Regions from separate parts of the Homo sapiens genome. Here region 2 is linked to region 1. The links are contacts of gene promoters, found by promoter capture Hi-C in human tissues and cell types (Jung and others, 2019). All regions are on one chromosome and are shown on one strand. Each heading gives the region's core, a stretch centred on a gene start or on the middle of the fragment in contact. The rest is flanking DNA. Distances are from core to core; before and after follow the strand shown. Region 1 holds the start of RTKN2 (rhotekin 2). Region 2 has its middle 120 kb from the start of LINC00845.

Evidence for each region. Contacts are between HindIII fragments. The study calls those that stand out against the background at their distance.
Region 2: a fragment that was not itself captured here is called in contact with the fragment with the promoter of RTKN2 in region 1 in 1 of the 25 tissues and cell types used here (lymphoblastoid cells).

The regions. Positions count from the first base shown.
Region 1 is chr10:62,266,096-62,270,504 of GRCh38, forward strand. RTKN2 (rhotekin 2) reads right to left here and starts at 2,749. Exons shown (of 12, transcript NM_145307.4): 1 at 2,456-2,749. The coding sequence starts at 2,515. The region is part of intron 1 of LINC02621 (long intergenic non-protein coding RNA 2621); the gene reads left to right. RefSeq lists a silencer at 2,501-2,830. The HindIII fragment of the contact is 3,580 bases long and covers 1-3,339 here.
Region 2 is chr10:61,131,609-61,136,120 of GRCh38, forward strand. No RefSeq gene overlaps it. Among named protein-coding and RNA genes, the nearest start is that of LINC00845, 120 kb to the left of the region's middle. RefSeq lists an enhancer at 3,911-4,140. The HindIII fragment of the contact is 9,997 bases long and covers 1-4,512 here.

The sequences.
Region 1 (4,409 bases), core at 1,499-3,998:
AAGTCAAACAGAAGCCTGTGTCACTGTCCTGACGCTATAAGTAGTTAAAGTCAGGCTGATAAAAATATATGGACAAGGCTATGAATGAAATAGGAGCATACCTTAAAAACAGAAATTTAGGTTAAGTAGGAAACAGAAACCTACTAGGTTTTAAGAGCTAGCCTAGCATGAAGGAAGTGCAAAGAAAATGGCTTTATTGTTGGTATTAAAAACTGACTAAAAAAACCTGAAGTTGAACTCCCGGTAAGACAACCGCAGTAATCAAGACAGAAACTATGATTCACCTAATGGATATAGTTAAGCCATGTTAACAAAGACCAAGGTGAAGAAGAAAAGAGTAAATACAGTACGTTCTCATTTTGCTAAAAGAAACTGTGTGGATTTTAAGAATTGTTTATGTACAGAAAAAAGTCTGGAAATTGTTAACAGCGGCCATTCTGGGGAATGGAACTGGAGACCGAATTCTTAAATTCATGTTTCTGTATATGTTGACTTTTCTGCAATGAGATAGTATTACTTTTTGAATTTTATTTTTATTAAGATGCCAAAAGCTTAAACATTTGTAAGAAAAGTAGGGGACTGCCCTAACCACTCAGATGAATAGGACAAAGGATAATAACAACAATAGTCATCTCTGAAGCACATCCTGAGTGCTAGGTGCTGTGATAAGTACTTTAGAGAGGTTCTCCAATTCCAACAGCTGTCTGGGATAGGCGGAATACCCAAGCTACAACGGTGGAAACTGAAACTTAGAAAACAGAGATAACTTATTCAAGGTTGCACAACAAGAAGAGTTTGGTTTGACCTGAATCTGACTCCAAAGCCAATACTCTATGCTGTGAGGAGTCGCAGAGGACTCCAGGGTTTCAGCAGAGGTGTTTGACCAGTGTGTGACCACCTCAAAATCTTTGGCCTTATCTCGATTACGTGGCAGCTTCATTCATGTATCAAAGGAAATACCAAATAAAAATTCAGTGTTAGTCAAGTATAAAATTATCTGACTCTCAATATTCCTGTTAGGTTGCAACCTACTACTATTTTGTGTTTTTTCTTCAAATCCAAACTGAGGAAGTAATTCCACATTTCAATCATTTTGATTTTGTCCTGCCTAAGAAATTAAGTATTGTATCTTCCCACATGTAAATAACCCAGGCTTTATGTATATTTAAACATTTATTTTCATTCCATGCAACTAAACTTCATGATTTTATCCTCTTGTCGCTTCTGTACCATTCCTATTCTTGCAGCCTGCAGCTCAATAAATACACCTGGACAGCTACACCTACACCTATATGATAGGTGCAAGAACATCAATAGAATGGCAATTCACTATAAATCAAGATTTTGTTAGCAATCAGGACAGCCAAAGTACATAACAGGACAGGACTGAAAAAAAGTACATCAAAATCTTTGAAATTTTTGAAAATGCTGGCATAAAACAGCATAAGTATTACTGATAAAGACACTGGACTTCTTTTGCATAATGAATCTTAATGTCTTGCTTTATTTTTCACAGTATTATTGAAAACTAATAATTTTGTGTCTGCTAAGGAAATCCCAGATTTTTAAACAAAGATATCAGGTGCCTCCATATGAATGAAATTGCAAATATTCTACCAATTTTGACCTACAAAACTGGCAATTTCATATGGCTTAACCTATTTCTGAAGTAGGTAAAAGAAGGTAGAGATTAAAATAGAAGTGAAGGTCCAGCTTAAAGACATCAGAGTTTTCTTTTAAGACCCTAAAGTTATGGTTAAGAGTGAAAAGTGGTAACATTTTAATAACTGATGCTGCCAAGAAATAATGTTGGTTTAGTAAAAAGTAAAATAAAAAGGTTTCTAACGCATTTTACATGGCTCAAAAGCAAACATCAAACTTCTATCCAATGTCACGTGTACTCCCTCTTTCCTTTCAAATGATTTGAGAAAGAACCCAGTATCAAACCTTCAACTTTTTCTAAAGTGCAGAGGTTGCTGTTTGCCTCTACTCCGCTCCGAACCCCCTCCCCCCAACCAGTTCTGTGTTGTGTGTAGACATCGCTCCATTACTGTGCTTCCCATTAAATCCGTAATAAGCCAGCTGTCCACTGGCCTCGCTGGGTTTCTTGGGAATCGAGGGGCTCCCATTTCCCCGGCATCACCTACACCTGCAAAAAGACAGGCGTCCAAAGCCTGGGGAGGGCAGCGGACAGGTGCGCCCGCAAACGCGCGCCTGGACCCCGGCACCGCCTTCCCAATCCGGACCTCAGCTGCCTGAGAAACTCGGGGGTTCCGATGTCCAGGCCCTTTAGAGCCCCAAGAGCGCAGTCTCCTAATCCCTCCCTTTGTTTCTGGCCACCGCTGAAATAGAGGAGCGGGGGAGAGGCTTTCCCGACTCCTCCACAAAGCAAATGCGCGAGGAACAGAACCCCGGCTCCCTCACCTTCCGCGGCAGGGTCCCTCCCGCAACTCACCTGCTGGGTGGGAAGCCCCGCCAGGCGGAGCGCAGGACCCCTCAGGCTCGGCCCCTCCATCTCCAACGCGAACTGTCCGGGCCGTCGCCACTCCTTCAAAGGGAAGATTTGAAAAGCCCGCCCCTGGCAGGAGCCGCAGAGGACGCCAACCGCCCGGCCGTACCAAGTCCCAGTCGCAGGGGCCGGGGGCGCAGGAGGAGCCGGGCCGAAGCGCACGCGCAGTGGGCGCGCCTTGCGCTCTGCAGCTCCCGCCGCCGGAAGTTGCCGAGACCCCAGGCTCTAGCGCGGCGGGGCGGGGGAGAGGGCGGCGGTGCCGGACTTAAGTCCCGGACAGGGATGTGGGCGGGCCTGGGACGGGAGTGGGAGGGGCCGCGGGGAAAGCTTCGGCGGCGGAGCGCACCTGTCCCAGCTCAGGTTTCTGGCTGGTGGTTTTCGTGGCACGCCCTTTGCACTGGGAGCTTTCTGCCCGCATCCCACCGAAGGCCTTCCAAAGTGATCGTAGCTGGACAGACTCGAGGCTGCAGTCCCTGTACTCCCAGACAACTCAGGAACCCACAGCGTCACTAAGAGCCCACGGTCTCGTTCCTAAAGAACCAATAACATTACTCTCAAACACAGCGCTCTCTGTTTCCTCTCACCTTTCCCAGCGTTGTCACCAGGGTCACCCAGATATCATGGTTTTATTCATCAGGTTCGTGAGATACTATGTCAGGCATTTCACAAGGTCTTGTCTTTGCCCCCAGTGTTTATAATCCCAGATGTTCCCCGCCAACTACTCTGTCCACTTACTTTGTTTTCTTGCGAAGGATTTCTTTCAGCTCTCTCGCCCTCTCTTTCCCTCTCCAACATCTAAGGTGATAGCAAAATGGGGTACTATTTCTCAAGAGCCTCATTTCTTGCTGCCCTAAAGATTAGCACAAAGACCCATTTTAATTCATGGATTTTGTTAATTATAAAGGGAAACATGGGATTTTTAAAAATCAAAATGAAAGCAGCAAAGATATCACACCCTTGAAAAGTCCTTAAAATTCATTGTCCCTAGTTTATCTTTATTTCCCCCTTGAAAAGGCAAGAGGAAGCCTCTTCTTGAAGAGTCTACCAAATCAACCCTCCAGCCCTCATCGCCTAGAAACCCTTGGGCATTTTTCCTCCATAAATAGGTGCCCATGTTTTTTCATTTGCCTGGGACAGACCCTGTCTGGGTCTGTTGTCCCAATGTTGCACCAATCTTGCACTTATCCCGTAGTGGATATTATGTGGTCATTTTAACTGCAAGACCCTTTTAAAAGCAGTTGGTTTGAGAATGTACTTTAAAAATATAATGGATACCCTTCCTCAAATAGGTAAAATGCCTCTTTAAGACCTTTTGGACTAGGTGATACTAGAAGCTTCCCAGTTGGGAATGATGGTCCCCTTGCATTATGAATGACCCATATCCTTACAACAATAAAATATGTGTTCAAAATTATCAACACGGAGCTCACCTCGTTTTCTACAAACACAGGTCTGAATTTCAGAATCATTATGTGCCCTTTCCTCCAATGCACATCTCTGTCTTATGCTACCACTTTGTGGTATAATTATCTCCTACTCAGTATGAGGCTGCATGAGCCTAGCTGTAGTACCTGACTCAAAAGAAAAACACACCGCGAGCCCATCATCAGACACATAGTACTTACAACACATACAGCTCTCAGTTGCAGATCAAAATACATGTAGAAGCCAGCACTTCATTAAAACAGAGGTGAGTCAACCAGTTTAGAATTGGACACTGATAGAGGAGTATTTGATGAGTTAAAACCAGATATTTAACTGGAGATACATTTATTTATGATACTAGAAGAAAGAGATTAGGCAAGATCATATTTAGTAATTATCTGTAGAATACAGTTGTTACAAGAGACCTTTCTCTTGGGAGAAGAAGTTATGATGTGGTCCTGTTTTTATTATACAC
Region 2 (4,512 bases), core at 1,280-3,779, 1.1 Mb before region 1:
TGTTAGGGAACACTTGTATCTGCCTTGCTTGGTCCTGGGACTTTGCTGCACACTCTAAGGCCAAGGGCCTAGACCCCTGTGGGCCACCATTTAGTCCCTCTCCACTGAGGTCCCACAAGCTCTCTTTAGTGCTAGGGGTGAGTTCAGACCCAGTTCCCGAGGGACCCTCAGAATTTGTCCTGGACTTGGGGGTTCCCCTCTCTCCTGTTACTTTCTTTTCCCTCATTTATTCCTATGTCATATTTGCAAAGTCTCTCTCCTTTCACCCCTATAGCAGGGTCTCCAGATTTAGAAAAAAGAAAAGAAAAGAAAAAAAATCTCTGCCCAATTAAATTTGAATTTCAGATTAACAACATTTTTTTTTAGTATAAATATGTTCCATGCAATTCTTGGGACAAACACTAAAAAAATCATTTATCTAAAATGTATATTTAACTTGGCATTCTATATTTTATCTGGCAGCATTACCCTAAGGGTTTCTGCTTTGGAAAGACCCAGGAATGGAAGTTTTGGGTAGGGTCAGATCTTTCAGTGCAAATATTCATTGAGATAGAAGAACAATCTGCATAGACTTAGAAAGGTACAGGGGAAAACCCAGGATCGACAAAATAAAAAATAATATCCATAAATAATCCTGTTACTCTCGTCATCATTGTAGTTTCCATCATCATGTTTATTCCCATCATGATCATTGCCCAAGGTGAGTTGTTGTTAAAGACTCAAGCCCCCTGGGGAAGGCCATAATTCATGGATCTTTTTCTGAACACAGTTTAAATTAAGATAAAAGAGAAGGAGAAACTAGGAGGCATGGGAAGGATGCAAGCTGAGTCAGTGGAACAGAAAGCAAGAGGAAGAGGTTAGGGCCAGAAAGGCAGCTTTACAGCTCATAATTTCACTGATTGGCTTGACTCGGGCAGCACAGGCTGGTAGAACACACTCTAGCCTGACTTCATTCAAGTCTCAGCACCACCACCACCAAGCCATGTAGCTTGGGCAGGTCACTTGACTTGTTCCTCCAGCTGAAATCCCTCATGAGATTCAAACCCAGCAATGCACCCAAATGTTTCCTAAGTGCCCCAAAGTCAACATGTACAAATGCAAATGCAAACTCATCTTCCTCTTCTCCAGACCTGCCATCTCTATATTAGTGAAATGATACCACCATCTTCACAGGGATCAAGGCAGGACACCTACAAGTCATCTTAGACCTAGCTGCAATGTGTTACTCCTGGTGACTGCCACAGTGAATTACCTGGCTGGTAAAGCCTACATCCTCTGCCTCCTTCTCTGCTATGAAAAGTGAGGAGCTTCTCAGACAGAAGAGGCCCATTTGAGGTAGGAGCTGGGACTTTACTTTGGAGGCAGGGCTTAGACTACAGGCCAGATTGAAGACTGGCTTAAACAGGGAAAAGGAAAACACCTCTCCATGAGACATGCCCAACAGTGCCATGTCAGTTTACCATTGCCATGGTAACACCCAGAAGCTACCATCCCTTTCCATGGCAATGAACGAATGATCCACAAGTTACCACCTCTTTTCTAGAAATTTCTGGATAATCTACCCTTTAATTTGTGTAGAATTAAAATTAGGTATAAATATGACTGTAGAACTGCACCTGAGCTGCTACTCTGGGCATACTGCCTATGGATCAGCCCTGTTCTTCAAAAGCAGTACCTCTGCTGTATACTACCACCTCAATAAAAGTTGCTGTCTATTACCACCACTTTGCTCTTGAATTCTTTCCTGGGCAAAGTCAAGAACCCTCCCAGGCTAAGCCCCAATCTGAGGCTTTGCTTGTCCTGCATCACATCCACACTTTTCCAGGAGGACAAAGACACAATGAAGTGTTCAGAGAAAGCAGCAAATGGTTCTTCTGTACATTTAGGGGAAAAGTTGAATTACATATCCTCCTGTATTTTTACAATGACTTTGTGATAGTCCACTCTATCTTTCTTTTCTTTAATTGACTTGAACAAGTCTCTGTTCCTGTCTATCAAAATAACAAACAGAAAATCATTTTACTCTCTTTTTCTCCATGGACATTTTACCAGAAGATGTTGAACAAAACTAGAGTGGCAGGGTACTACTGGGGGATATTTACAGCCTGGGGAACTTCTTGTGTCTTCCAGAGCTAAAAAATACATATTAGAACTTACCATAATGGCAATCTTCTTAATAATATCCCAATGAACAGAAAATTATTTTGGATGAATCCATTGAGTTTAAACCCAGTAGAACAAGGTAAAAAGGCTTTTGAAAAGAAGCAACCAATCTTCTCTACTCTTAAAATAGCCTTTTCTTTCCCATAGAACATAGAGAAAGAAACCAAATAAGTGGGAAATGGATGAGAAAGCACAATCAATACTAATTCATGGTTCCTGCTTTGAAAGGCAGCAAAAAGTCATTCATAATCTCATGTGCTTTTCTAGTTGTGTCACACGAAGGCCTATGGTAAAAGGATAAGAGGAAAAGTAAGGTCATTACCCATGTTTGAAAAATTGTTAAATTGTTTGCGAAAGGAAAAAAATCTCTTCTTAATAATGTCAGAGACACAGGACCTAAGTGAAATCAATTTTGGGTAGTTTGGGATCATTCTAGCCCAGTCAAGAGAAAGTTTCAAAACGGACTGTAGCAATGAGGTCCATTTGTTATAAAACCACCCTAGAGGAGAATGCACATGTAGGCACACGAACACATGCACACCCCATACTTTGTATTTTTTATATATTTGTGTATATAAAGTGTTCTGTGTTTAAAATTTTATATATATTATTGACACTCAAAGTATAAATTCCTGACCCTCTCCCAACAAAAATTAGATTCAGAATTAAGTTTAGATCTTTGGTCAGCTTTTGGTAGGGTTTGCAAATAATTGAATATAGAAAGCAAGTGTTTTCTGTTTTCTGAGTTCTATAAGAATCCAGTGTGTGTATATTTGCATGTGTGCATGCATAGAATTCTTTCCCTTATGGTTTGCGATCATCCTACTTTATGCCTCTCAGATATTTAGCTAGGAAAATGACTCAAGTTTCATAAATGTCATTCCAATATCGGATCATATCCAGAGCTGTTGGTGTGTTTGATGGAGACATACCTTAAGCAACTGTTTATTGAGTGCCTGTTAAGTACTAAGTACCTTCTTCATGACAATCCTCCTAGTTCAGATTTGTACCCATTTTTCAGGTTAAGTCACTTACTCAGGATCATGTTTGACCCCCAAGTAACTGAGCTGGAATTCAGTTCTATGGTGCCAAACTTGAAAGCCCAATCTTCCCATGACTAGTGATGACTCTATGGATCCTGGAGACAGACTGACTTTGAATCCTGTTCCTGTTGCTTTCTAGCTGTTTTACCTTTGGCAAATTACATAATTTTTGTGCCTTAGTGTCCTCATCTGTAAAATGAAAATAATAGTCATTTTAATATTATTTATTTCTTTGCTAATCATTTATTAATTTAATAAGAAATTGCTTAACAAGATTGTTGGGAGGATTAAATCATACAATATATATAAAGTGCTTACCCAACCCATTGTAAGATCCCATCTATATTGGTCATTGTCATGATTATTCTGTACTTTGGCAAGAGATTCAAGCCTTGAAGCTCTCATGGCCCATGGAGATGCTAGTTTACTAGCAATTTGCCCCATAGACTGGTTGGTTCATGGCTAGCAGCAACTACTTTACCTGTCCTATCTCTACGTGCTTCTAAATGGGGGAGGGGAGGGGCTCCAGGGTGTGTAAGCACATCAAATGCAGACAGGATTTCCCCAAATGCATTGCAGGTGCCAGAGGACTGGCAAGCCCATGTTTACTTTCTAGATTACTTGGGAAAACTTGAGAACTCGCTGATGGTGGGATGGCTTTTCAATTAGAATAACCTCACTCAAAATCATACATATTTTTTCCTTTTGGGAAGTATAACTTGTTTGATTCTAGTGTCCAAAACTTACCTTCTCTGAATGCCTCCCACCATGGTGCCTGAGCGAGGGGCTTTCCACTTCAGAATGAGGTCATAAATATGCAAATATTCTTCTCTGTGGAGTTGACTTTACCAGGCTCATTTACAAAGTTACTCAGCTGTGACTTGGCCACTTAAATAACCCTGTTGCTTAAAGATATCCCTTACTCCAGCCATTTACCCTCTAAACCATGTTCATGTTATAGAAAAATACAAATACAAGCACGTTCTGCACGAGCAGTATTACAAAGCTGTATTTTGTCAGTTGTAAATTATATCTGGTTTTGAGGGAGGAAAGGGAGATCAACAATTCTATATTCTATGAAACAATTTCATAAGAAATATTAGACCCTCATAATTCTGAAGTCTCATATGCTAGTTTTATTTTGTTCTGGTAGGTTTTAGAAGCAAACAATTCTCTGGGTGCCTAAAAGTAATGCCTAGGTTTCTGTTTTTACATATTTAAGCTATGCATTTAGATACAATTCAAGCATTCCAGGGTGTTAACGGTGTTTACAAAGAAAACTGCCAGAGGCAAATTCAGGCAGTTT